2 separate regions of the Homo sapiens genome follow, and region 1 is linked to region 2. The links are contacts of gene promoters, found by promoter capture Hi-C in blood cells and fetal thymus (Javierre and others, 2016). All regions are on one chromosome and are shown on one strand. Each heading gives the region's core, a stretch centred on a gene start or on the middle of the fragment in contact. The rest is flanking DNA. Distances are from core to core; before and after follow the strand shown.

Evidence for each region. Contacts are between HindIII fragments. The CHiCAGO score rates a contact against its expected background, and 5 or more counts as called.
Region 1: a contact is called between a fragment that was not itself captured here and the fragment with the promoter of SEPTIN11 in region 2, in 2 of 17 cell types (erythroblasts and endothelial precursors). The highest score is 5.8, in erythroblasts.

Annotation. Positions count from the first base shown.
Region 1 is chr4:76,428,206-76,434,224 of GRCh38, reverse strand. No RefSeq gene overlaps it. Among named protein-coding and RNA genes, the nearest start is that of SHROOM3, 4.0 kb to the left of the region's middle. The HindIII fragment of the contact is 829 bases long and covers 2,711-3,539 here.
Region 2 is chr4:76,945,073-76,951,558 of GRCh38, reverse strand. SEPTIN11 (septin 11) reads right to left here and starts at 1,807. Exons shown (of 10, transcript NM_018243.4): 1 at 1,629-1,807. The coding sequence starts at 1,655. It overlaps LOC105377294 (a long non-coding RNA gene), which reads left to right and starts at 1,994. Exons shown (of 3, transcript XR_001741739.2): 1 at 1,994-2,596. RefSeq lists silencers at 1,513-1,822, 1,853-2,032 and an enhancer at 2,943-3,022. The HindIII fragment of the contact is 7,046 bases long and covers 1-5,947 here.

The sequences.
Region 1 (6,019 bases), core at 1,876-4,375, 520 kb after region 2:
CTTATGTAATGGTAGTATGTGAATGGAAACATAAGGAAACCTAAGGTGTACCAAATGAAAGTATGTGGTAAAAATTGGCTGATTCTTAAGGGTAATTTACGCAATTTCTATTGTGGTTTTCTTTTACAGCTTAATTTGTAAGTTAGAATAAATGGAGAAACATTAGCTTTTCTTTCATTTCAAAGAACATATGTATTTTAAATAAAAGTCCTAGGTAAATGAACAGCTTTCTTTCTGAAAAAATTAATTTATGAGGCTCTTATTATGTTACTCCTAATACATTTTGTAAAAACTGGGATTTTACAGAATCCACATTTAATATTAAAAGTAACATAGCTATACAAAATTTCAGTTAGGAGGCATAAGCTCAAGAGATCTATTGTACAGCATGATGACCATAGTTATAACAATGTATTGTATATTTGGAAATTGCTAAGATTAGATTTTAAGTGCTCTCACCACAAAAAAAATTAGTATGTGAGGTAATAGGTTAATTCCTTGATTTAGCCATTTTACAATGCATACTTATATCAAAACATCATGTGGTACACCATAAGTATATATAATTTTTAGTTGTCAATTTAAAAAATAATAAACAAAAAAAGTAATGAAGCTAAAGGCAAAGGAAATAAGGAAAAGATAATATGAACCCAGTGCTTGCAGACTGATGAAATCTCCATTTTAGATTATCACCAAAAATATTGAAGAAACAAACATAGAACCAAAATTGATATGTAATCTGAAAAAAAAATGTAAAACTTCATTTTGTGGACCTTCACTATAGCAGTTGATAGACCAGGTTTGGAAGAACTTTTTTCCTCCATCTTCTGTTGATCAGATTCAAAGAATGTTAAAGCTGCAAGAGACAATCCTCCCACACCCTTGATTTTAGAGGTAAGGACACAGAGGCCACCAGAAGGTTAAATGATCTGACCAGAGTAATCCTGCAAGCAACACAGGCAGGCATGAAATTTAAATCTTCAGACGTTTAGGAATGAAATCCTAGCTTAAGTCAGGTGTTCTGCATAGTTTACGGTGAAAAGACAACTTTCTTTTGGCATAGCACTGCTAATTCGTAAGAAGAACTTCTGTTAGGATATGTGATTTGGATGCAAACTCTTAATTACAGAATGCAATCAGACTCCTCCCCAAGAAGAGAAAGGCAACTCTATTGTCTCAAGGTGCTGACAGTGGAAAGAAAGGTTGGGATTCTAACTGAGAACAGCATAGGACTCAGGCTTTCTAATAGAGGACTTCTTTTATGCCCCATTCATCATCTTTCTAGGGAACCACTTCTTCCTCGATCCTGTGGTGCTGGTGGGCTGCCCCTGTCCCCGGCTCCAGGGTGGACGTAATGACCCAGGAATCAACCAACCCCTGGCTCAAATGATTGATATGTGGATGGGCATGAGACTTAAGTGTGACCAATGTTATAACTAGAAATTTTACTAGTGCTGTCAAAAAATGGCATTTTCTCCTATGGTTTGCTAGGTTGGTAGATAAAATTTTTGAGTTGCTGGAAGTCTTTTTTTATTTTTTATTTTTTTTTTAATTGAGACAGAGTCTAGCTTTGTCGCCCAGGCTGGAATGCAGGGTGTGATGGCGGCCTACTGTAGCCTCAATCTCCCAGGCTCAAGCAGTGCTCCCACCTCAGCCTCGCAAGTAGCTGAGACTACAGGTGCATGTCACCATGCCTGGCCAGTTTTAAAAATTGTTTTGTACAGACAGGGTCTCACTCTGTTGCCCAGGCTGATCTCAAACTCCTGGGCTCAAGTGATCCTTCCGCCTCAGCCTCCCAATGTGCTGAGATTACAAGTGTGAGCTGCCACGCCCCAGCTGGAAGTCATCTTTGATATCACACGCCTGAGAAGGAAACCAGCTCTGAGAAAAGCAGTCTATGATAAGGGGGAGACAGTTCTGGTGATACCATTGAGCCTTGTGCCCAATTGTACCTTACTGAAGCTGGCAATTCTCAAGCTTTTTGGTTTCAGGAACCCTTACATGCTTAAAAATTATTGAAGACTCCAGATAAATTTTATGTGTTTTGTATTGATCAATATTTACTATATTAGAAAATAGAAAAGAACATTTTAAAATACTTATGTATTAATTCATTTAAAAATAATAAATCTTTATATGTTAAAGTAACATATTAATATTTTTATGAAAAATAATTACATTGTCTCAAACAAAAAATATTACCAAGAAGAGTGGCACTGTTTCACATATTTGCAACTCTCTTTAATGGCCAGGTTAGTAGAAGATGGTTGGATTCTACCATCTGCTTCTGTATTCAATTTGTTCAATATCACATGGCATATAGCCACTGGAAGATTCCCCTATACATTTTTGAGAGAGCAAGTGGAAAAGGTACACAATGTCTTAGTATTATTACAAAAGCAGTTTTGACCCTGAAGACCCTTAACTTTCCAAGTTCCTATGGGATCATAAAACTGGTAATTGTAGGAGTGGGGTGGCTTTAGGCCACCATAAGCAGATGCAGCCAGGCCTAAAGCCACCCCACTCCTACAATTACCAGTTTTATGACCCCATAGGTACCTGTTTATTTTTTCCTTAAACCAGCGGGGGTTGAGTTTCTGCTTCTTGCAACTGAAAGAGTTCAGAGTAATACACAAGGAAACCCCTTCGTGGTTTTTCCTGGTTTGGGAGAAAGTTTAGAGAAGCTTAGCACAGTACCAAAAATGAAGCTTCACATTGTGTTTTTCTGTCTATTACTTCTCTCCTTCCTTCTGCCTCTAACTTAGAATTACTCCTGCTTTCTTGATCAGATTCTTCCCTTCATGACAAATAGATCCAATGTAGCTTACAACTTTATTTTCTGTCTCTATACGAAAAATTCCCACTGTGAGTTATTGAGCTCATATTGCTGTCATTGTGAATATGGCCCCAGAACAGAAAAATATATCAGTCATATTGACTCTACCACTTGTTTAGCATCCCTACACCAAACAGTCTGTTAAATGTCATCTTCCTAATCACTGTTTTGACTTTTTAGCAATCACACATCATTGTATTTGTTAACAGCACTGAAGGAAAAATTAAGTTGATCTTTTGAAAATTCCCATTTCTTGATTTTAATTTTTCTTAGTATGCCCTAATGTTTTTCTCTTTATTTTTTGCTAAAACTTTTAATGTGATTGTCAACTTATTGGATTTTTAAAAATGCTTCTAGATGGAATATTTAAGAGATTGAAAAGTCAGTAGGTTATCTCTGAAAATGAAATCAGAGCGACATCTACTGGCTATTCTGGCTCACTAATCGGTAAAGTAAATTAACTGTAGACAATAAATAGGGTTTTTTTTTTTTTTGAGACAGAGTCTCACTTTGTCACCCAGGCTGGAGTGCAATGGCGATCTCGGCTCGGCTCACTGCAACCTCTGCCTCCCGGGTTCAAGTGATTCTCCTGTCACAGCCTCTCGAGTAGCTGGGATTACAGGCACACACTGCCACACCTGACTACTTTTTTTTTGTATTTTAGTAGAGACGGGGTTTCACCCAGTCTGGCAATTCTCAAGCTTTTTGATTGAGACCAGACCAGGCTGGTCTTGACCTCCTCAGCTCAGGCAATCCACCCGCCTCGGCCTCCCAAAGTGCTAGGATTACAGGCGTGAGCCACCGCGCCCGGCCTAATAAATTGTTAAATTATAAGTTGGAAGTTTATTTAGTCTTTCTTAGAAGGCCTCAGAACAATCCTAAATAGACAAAAATCAATCTTATTTTAAAGTTTGTGCAATCTCTCTAGGCAGCCTTTCACAGGCAAAAAGAATCATGTCTTCATGTGTCTCCTTAAGATTGGGGATCAAAGCATGATGTCAGCTGATTTAAAACAAAACAAAACGAAAAAACACCGGGCACGGTGGTTCACACTTGTAATCTCAGCACTTTGGGAGGCTGAAGTGGGTGACTCCTGAAGTCAGGAGTTTGAGACCAGCCTGGCCAACATGGTGAAAACCTGTCTCTACTAAAAATACAAAAAATATTAGCCGGGTGGGGTGGTGCATGCCTGTAGTCCCAGCTACTCGAGAGGCTGAAGCAGAAGAATCGCTTGAACCTGGGAGGCAGAGGTTGCAGTGAGGGAGATGGCGCCACTGCACTCAAGCCTGGGTGACAGAGTGAGACTCTGTCTCAAAGAAAAAAGAAAAGAAAAGAAAAGAAAGATTGAGGAAAACTTTCCCAGCTGATCTTCCCTCATTTCTCAATGCCATGAAGTAGATCAAATGCTTCCTCTGAAAACAGTCACTTGGAAGAGGAATGAAAGCACAAAGATTAGATTTAAACTAATCAAGATCTACCTACTAGAACTTCCCCTGAAGCACAGGGCTCTGTAGAATGTTGTGTTCAACACTGGGGTTCTTGAGAAAGGAGGAAGTGGGGATAGATGCTGAATATGCAATTTACAGCATTTGCTTCACCAAATATCATAAGTTGGTGGCAGAACTATCAAAACACAATCAACTCAAATTATTTGGGAATGATCTAAATGCTCCATGTCTTGCTTGAAGCAGTAGTTTCACAGGTGCATATATGTATGCCGAAACTCATCACATGGTACACTTTAAATGTATACAGTTTATTGAATGGAAATTATAGCTCAATAAAATTAGTTTTTAAACAACTGAAGGACTTCATGGACAAATGAATAGGTAGCCCAAATGTAGAATATACATGCAATGAAATACTTTCCAGACTTAAAAATGAATGAAATCTGTGATCTAAATCCTTTTTTATTTAAAAAAATGAATGAAATTCTGATATATGCTGCAACATAGATGAACCCTGAAGACACTATGTTAAATAAGCCAGACACAAAAGGACAAATATTGTATGATTCCATTTATATGAGATACCTAGAGTAGTCAAACTGACAGAAAGCGAAAGTAGTATGGTGCTTTCAGGGGATGAGAGACGAGGGAATAAGGAGTTACTGTTTAATGGGTACAGAGCTTCAGTCTGGAAAAATGAAAAAGTTCTGGAGATGGATGGTGGTAATGGTTACATAACAATATGCCTATGTGAATGCCATGGAATTGTACGATTGAAAATAGTTAAAAAGATAAATTTTATCCTATGTATATTTTACCACAGTAAGTTTAAAAAGTGCTTATAAAAGGTAAAGAAATGTAAAACATGACACTATGATTAATTAGATCATTATTCATCACTTAATCATGGTAAGCATGGTTGTAGTGAAAAGTCAGAAAACTGCCAGATGCATAAAGATCCAAATAATAATAATATCTGATGGCACATACTTGATATTAGATCCCTGACAGAAGTCACAACTGTTATAGAAGTCACTGTAGTAGATTATTATTTAAAAACTGCTAGAATTATATCCGCAAACTTACACTATTTCTTCCTAAATAGAAGTAAAAGATCTTAATAAGAATACGGTGGCGGGCGCCTGTAATCCCAGCTACTTCAGGAGGCTGAGGCAGGAGAATCACTTGAACCTGGGAGGCGGAGGTTGCAGTGAGCCAAAATGGTGCCATTGCACTCCAGCCTGGGTGACAAGAGTGAAACTCTGTCAAAAAAAAGAAAGAAAGAATATATCTCAGCAAAAACAATGGTACTGAGATCTTAAACAAAAGATGGTTATGATAAAGGATTAGTTGGCTTCAAAGATGCTAATGACAATGATCTCAAAGGCAGAAACAAGGCCTAGAGGAGAACAGGCAATCTCCCTTTATTAGCTATCTGACTTCCATCTGTTACTTCTATCCCCTTTTTTCATCAGTCTGTAAAAGAGTTTGTCAATCAAAAAAAAAAAAAGACTTGTATTTGTAAAAACCCATATCAGTGTTGCGGGAGAGAACGACTGCCAAGGAACACAAGGAACTTTCTGGGGAGACAGAAATCTTGACCGAAGTGTTTCGTTACTGGGTATACACATTTCTCAAAACTCACCACTTAAAAGCACACTTAAATTCTCTCTCAGGCTGGGATATCATCTTCTCCTGCCCTGGGACAGGGCCTTTAAATTTAGACTAAATTACA
Region 2 (6,486 bases), core at 558-3,057:
GTATAATGGGGGGCAGGGGGAGGAGTAATTTAACCAGATAAATTTCACCTCTATAGACCTCAATTTTCTCACCAAAAATAAAACGACTAGCCCAGAGACTATGCAAATTCCCTCAGTAACAATAACCTACATGTGACCACTAATTATCAAGAGCACAATTTATGTGCAAAAGAAGACCAGAATTCTTAAAAGAGCCATGTCATTAAATCGTAGAGTTGAAAAGGCCTAAAAGACAGTCATGATTCGATATGACCGCTGTGTTTTCTGACTGCAGAAAACGTCTTTGAAAGCACCGCGGGCAGCCGAACCACCAAATCGAATTAGAATCCGCAAAGGGACCCATGAACTTCTCCCGAGGGGGTAGGGTGCAAAAGGCGCGCGTATCTGGGGAGGAGTTAGGCGGGGAGAGGGGGAAGAGCCGGGAGCCTGAGAGCACAGCCTTGCATTTCTGGGATTTCCGAGCTTCCAGTATCTCAGTAAGTCTTTCGTCTGTAACTACAAAATCTCCCGAGCCACCACCTGCAGCTGCACAGCTGTGGGAAAGGGAAGAAGAAAAAGGGAAGAGGAGGTGATAGACAGGGAAAGACATCGCCCGAGGCGCCCCCAAAGCCAGTAAGGCGAGTGGACTGTGAACATCGACGATGAAAAGGGGAAAGGGAAAACAGGAGGACTCCGCCTTTCCCACCCAGCTCCGCTCCTTTCAAAAAAAAGGAAAGGCCGCCGCCGCCCCTTCCTCCGCCTTTCACTTGGGGATGCGGAGCGGCCACTGAACCGCACCCTCGGAGTCCCGCTCCCCTCCGGCCCGGCCCCGGGGCGCGGACCGAGTCTTGCAACCCAGTAGGCGCGGCGCCTTGGCCCACACACTCGGGGCAAAGGTATCTCCTCCCTCCTACTCTCCTCCCTCCCGCCGTGGGGCACTCGATTCTTCACGCACCCGCCCGCCCTTCCTCTTCCTCGCGTCCCAGCCTCCTCAGCCCGCCGCCCCCGGCCTTTCAGCCGCAGAACATTTCAGTCCTTCCACCCACACCACAAGGGAGCCTCCAGAAAACTTTGTGTGTGTTATCTGGGGCTTTGTCCACATCCTGGGCAGGGCCCGCTCAGCCGGGTGGATGCCCGAGGGTGTCCGGGATCTCACAATGCGCTGGGGAGGCCACCACGGAAATCCCACCCCTCTGACCTGCTTCTACAGCAGTGCCACACGCAGCACTTCAGCTCGCAATTCCCATGCCCTGAGCGCCCCCTCGGCGCGGGGGAGACTGGAGGAAAGCCCCGAACCCGGCGCCCTTCTGGCTGTCACGAGGGAAGAGGTGCGCGGGCAGAGGGAGGCGGCTGAGACACGCCGCGCCTCAAAGAATTATTTTAAAGGGAACAGGAGAGGGGTCCTTTTTCTTTCGCATTCCCAGAAGAGGGGCGCGACGAGGCGATCCACTGTTGCATCACGTAACTGAGCCCCTGGGCTCCTAACCCCGACCCCAGACGCGCGCCCAAATTCGTGCACACACCCACAGCCGTCGCCGCCGCCGCGGGGCCGAGCACCCGCCCGGCTCCCCTGTGGTCCTCACCGCACCCGCCCCAGAGCAGAGACCACCCGGCGCCCGAGGAGCAGCAGGCGAGGCCCCAGCACTCACAGACGGTCTCCCCACGGCCACGGCCATCGCAGCTGCGGCACCGGCTCCGGCTGCGCCCGGGTGCTTTACGCCGACTCCGGCTGCTGCTAGTGCTCGGGCTCCGGCTCGCCTCCCTCGCGCCTCCCTCGCGGCTGCGCTCTGCTCGCCGGCGTCCCGCTGGCAGCCAGCGGCATCTGCTCCCCCCACGCCGCCGCCCCTCCCGCTTTATTAGAGCAACATGGCCACCCGCCTGGAAGGGACCATTCGCTTCCCCAGGAAGGGGTGTGAGCCTGCGCGCCCGGCCGCGGTGGTGGGCGGGAGGATGGTGGGCGGGCTCCGAGCCCAGCTCCACTGGCCCCGGCCGCGGGGCTCGCCCCTCCGTCCCCAAACGACCGTCTCCGCTGCCATGAGATGCCGACAGCCTGTGCGCTGGCCGCCACCCCCTGCTCCATCAGGTGCTGGAATCTGAGTAAAAGCCTGGGCGCGAGCTCCCAGCCCCGGGGCCTGCCACCGGCTCCACGAAGCGGGCAGCTCCAGCGGCCGCCGGGAGAAGGAAGGGCGACCGGGGGAGACGGGTCGCAGGGACAGCACGTGGCGGAAAGTTAGCCCCGGACTAGCACGCCCCACCCGGAGAAGCCGGCCTGGAAGGGGCTGCGGACCACCAGGCGGAGCGGTGGGCGACCGAAGTGCGGCTGGGCTGGCCTCCTCGTCTCCGCACTGGAAGAATTGCCCTTCCGCAAGTCTTCCCTTCCCACATGGGGGCCCTCCAGGCCGCACCTCGGTCGCCCACCGCTTCCCTTGAGAAGGGAGACTAAAGACAGGCATCTGGAAGCTGTCACTGTGGCGCGCGGGCAGACAGGGGATCCCATTGGAGAGGAAGAGCCGTAGTAGTCGCTGCTGCCTTCGGCCGACCCAACGGCCGCCTGCTTGGGAGGAAGAAAAAGAACGCCCCCGCTGAAGAATTAAGGCAGCCATTGGTTGCTCTAGGGGTAAGGACCGAGGCCTCCCCTGGGTGTCACTGGAGCAGCCACACGTGGGGGATCAGCCGACTTCATTCGATCGCTGGCGACAGACCCGGCGACCCGTAGGAATGCGCGCTGGGGCTGCGGCTGGAGGGCGTGGCGACGGCAACAGGCGGGTGGCTCGAGTGGGTGCGACTCTGGGCGCGTGGGACTGAGAACTCCTCCGCCGTGGGGAAGATTTTTTTCCCAGCAGATGTTGGGGTGTTACTGCGTGTCTGAGGGGCCGGCGGAATGGAGGGGTCCCGGTGCGTGCAGGGCAGCGAGGTGTGTCAGATGAGCTGTGGATCCCTGCGGCCCCACGTGGGCCGGAGAGGGGGGCCCACGACAACAAGCGATTGAGGACAGCGATGGACAGGGCGGGGAACCAGCTGGGTGGAAGCACAGGGAGTGTGGTGAGGAGGGAAGGGCTGTGATCTGCCCTCGGTACGACGCCCCAAGGGACAGCCTGGCCTCCTGAATTAGGGAAAAGACAACCGGTCTCTTTAGACGGGCGCCTCAGAGTCTGACCTGAGTCTTCAAACGCCCAGATCCCCTGGGGCCTTGAGTCTCCCTGTCCCGCTGGCCCTGCCTCGCCTGCGCTTCAGGACTCCGACGCCCCCGCAGCCTTGGGCTAAGGGTCAGTCGTCCCCGGGCGCGGGTCCGGCTGCCCTGGAACTGATGCTGGATTTCGCTGGTAGGTGGGCTAGGGGCTTGGTCACCCCGTCTGAATTCCACTGTCAGGACAGCTGTGGAACCGCCAGAGAAAAGTCTGGCCATGAAAGAAAGGTGAGGGGCGCCGACGCAGAGCTTATTTATTCAGTCTGTGGGCGGACTCAGACGTGCAGAGCACCAACCTCTTCAATTTCTGCCCTCTAGACTCCAAATCTTTTGAAATTAGGGACCACCATTTTATGCCAAACATACAGTAGGCGCTCAATAAGTGTTGAATTAAGATTACACATAAATGGGCCGGGCGCGGTGGCTCACGCCTGTAATCCCAGCACCTTGGGAGGCTGAGGTGGGCCAACATGGTGAAACCTTGGCTCTAAAAAAATGCAAAAATTAGCCAGGCATGGTGGCGCTTGCCTGTAGTCCCAGCTACTATAGAGGCTGAGGTGGGAGAGTCGCTTGAACTCTGGAGGCGGAGGTTGCAGTGAGCCGAGATCGCGCCACTACACTCCAGTCTGGGTGACGCAGTGAGACCCTGTCTCAAAAAATATATAATAATAAGATTACACACAGATGGGTGCTGTGCAAAGGGAGGGGGAAGACAAATACTTTCTTCTGCAGCTCTGGTACATGGACATTTTGTCCTTTCTCCATAAGGAGGATCAGACAGCAGCAGCACTGCCCATGGACCAGAGGCCTCATGTAAGGCCTGGGAAAAGAGGGCTCCACACACCACCAACCGGATGTAAGGGCAGTTGCAAAGGAACTGTGTTATCTTGACCAGAACAGACTGTAGAATTTGTTTATCAAATTTTTTTTTTTTACTTATTTATTTTGTGAATGTATATGCTGTAAACTCATCTGCTTAGATTGTAAGAATGTGAATGCCCTACCTTGGTGGGTAGGTTAGTTTATTCTAATCAGCAAAACTTAACGTTACATATTCCAACATCTCATTTGGGATGTGAAGATGCTATGGGGAGGGTGGGTATCCTGGCATTGCTAGAATGTTGGAGCCTTAGCGAGAGAGTGGCAGAGTGGGGAGAACCTGGCACTTCAGCTACAGATGATCACTTATGAGCTTTGTTATATCAAATAAGTTAAACTTTCATCTCATTTTTTTTTTTTCTATTGTAAAATAGGGTAGTAACAGTGAGTCCTGGGGGAGGACGTGTTCTGTTAGCCAGATCCACTCTCCAACCTGCTGTCTGTCCTTTGGAGCCTTAACTCAAGAGACTTTCTTTCCCTCTAGCTTCCAGTTGAGTGAAGGCACTAGGAAGCAACAGCGATGGAACAAAGAGGAAGGAGTATGGTTATTTATTCCCCCCTGGCTCCCTTACTATGGCACCATTGCAGGCTGGTTGCCTCCCTCAACCAAAGGAAGCAGCCAGTATCCCTCCCTAGGGTGACCCAGAGTAAACCCCTATGGTTTCCCTTCATTTTGCACATACCTTTGCAGATAGTCTTTTTATAAAACTCTACTCACATTATCCAGTAGGAATGAACATCTCATTCCTTCACAGAATTGTTTTGAGAGTTAACTGAGAAAATACTGTATTATTATTATTAGAATGACCTATAATTTCTGTCCAAACTGAGAAACTTTTGAGGCTGGGAAAAGGGGGTTTGTGCTGATAGTAATGATGTCAGGACAATAGGAAAAACAAGGACTTATGGCCACCCCAGCTATTATTGCCAGTAAACTCTGCTTTAGACATATTAAGCAATCAAGAAGTGGTCGTACTATCACGCTTCTGTCACTAGACTATGAATGTCTCAAGGTAAGAGTGCTTTTTTGTCTATTAGCTTCTGTCACATGGTCTGGTATATTCAATAAATTTTGAGTTGGAGATGAGGGTAAAGACTAGGAAATGAATAATTTTTATTGCCATACTAAGGTAATGAAGAGTCAAGGAGGTCTTTAAGCAAAGAAAATTTGCATTTTAGAAAACAGCTATAGTGAATATTTGGCATTGTTAGTAATTTAGGGTCTATTCCCTTTTTAATTGAACCCCAATTTATTTGGAGAGCTTTTCCAATGAATGTTTCAACTTGGTAAAAAGTAAATGCCTCTTAAAAAAGAGGTTCTGGGCCAGGCGTACTGGTTCATGCCTTGTAATCCCAGCACTTTGGGAGGCCAAGGCGGGCAGATCACCTGAGGTCAAGAGTTCGAGACCAGCCTGGCCAACATGGCGAAACCCCACCTCTACTAAAAATACAAAAATTAGTGGGATGTGCTGGTGCATGCCTGTAATCCCAACTACTCGGGAGGCTGAGGCAGGAGAATAGCTTGAACTCACAAGGTGGAGGTTGCAGTGAGCCGAGATCGCACCAGTACACTTCAGCCTGGCTGACACAGCCAGACTCCATCTCAAAACAAAACCAAAAAAAGAGGTTCCTCGCTGGCTGTGGTAGCATGGTGTAGTCCCAGCTACTCAAGAGGCTGAGGCAGGAAGATCACTTAAAGCCAGGAGTTTAAGGCTGTAGTGCGTTATGATTGAGCCTGTGAACAGCCACCGTACTCCAACCTGGGCAACATAGCAAGATCTCACGTCCAAAAAAATTAATTTAATTTATTTTCAATAAGAGGCTCCTGAAGAGACGTTCCATCACACCCTTCCTTTCATCACCACAGTACATACATTCTTAAGAAAGTATGTGATCTAAGCTTGGCCAATTAGATGCTGTTACATTTGAATTTTGAATCAAGAGACACAAAGACAATACAAATTGTTACAGTTTATGCAGGCCATAAATTATTTTTTACTTTTTGGCAAATTGTTACAGTTTATGGGGTCTACAATTTATTTTTTTATTTTCTGGCTTAAGTTATCTAGGATTTGTTTCTGTGGTTTACAGTCAAAGAACCCAAAGACCAGATCACTCTTGACTACCATAAAAATGATTAATTATAAAGGGATACAAGAAAAACAGGAGGCTGGGCACAGTGTCTCATGGCTGTAATCCCAGCACTTTGGGAGGCCAAGGTGGGTGGATCACTTGAGGTCAGAAGTTCGAGACCAGCCTGGCCAACATGGTGAAACCCCATCTCTACTAAAAATACAAAAGTTAGCCGGGCGTGATGGTGGGCGCCTGTAATCCCAGCTACTTGGGAGGCTGAAGCTTGAGAATCACTTGAACCGGGGAGGCAGAGGTTACAGTGAGCCGAGATCGCACCGCTGCACTCCAGCCTGGGCAATAGAGCAAGA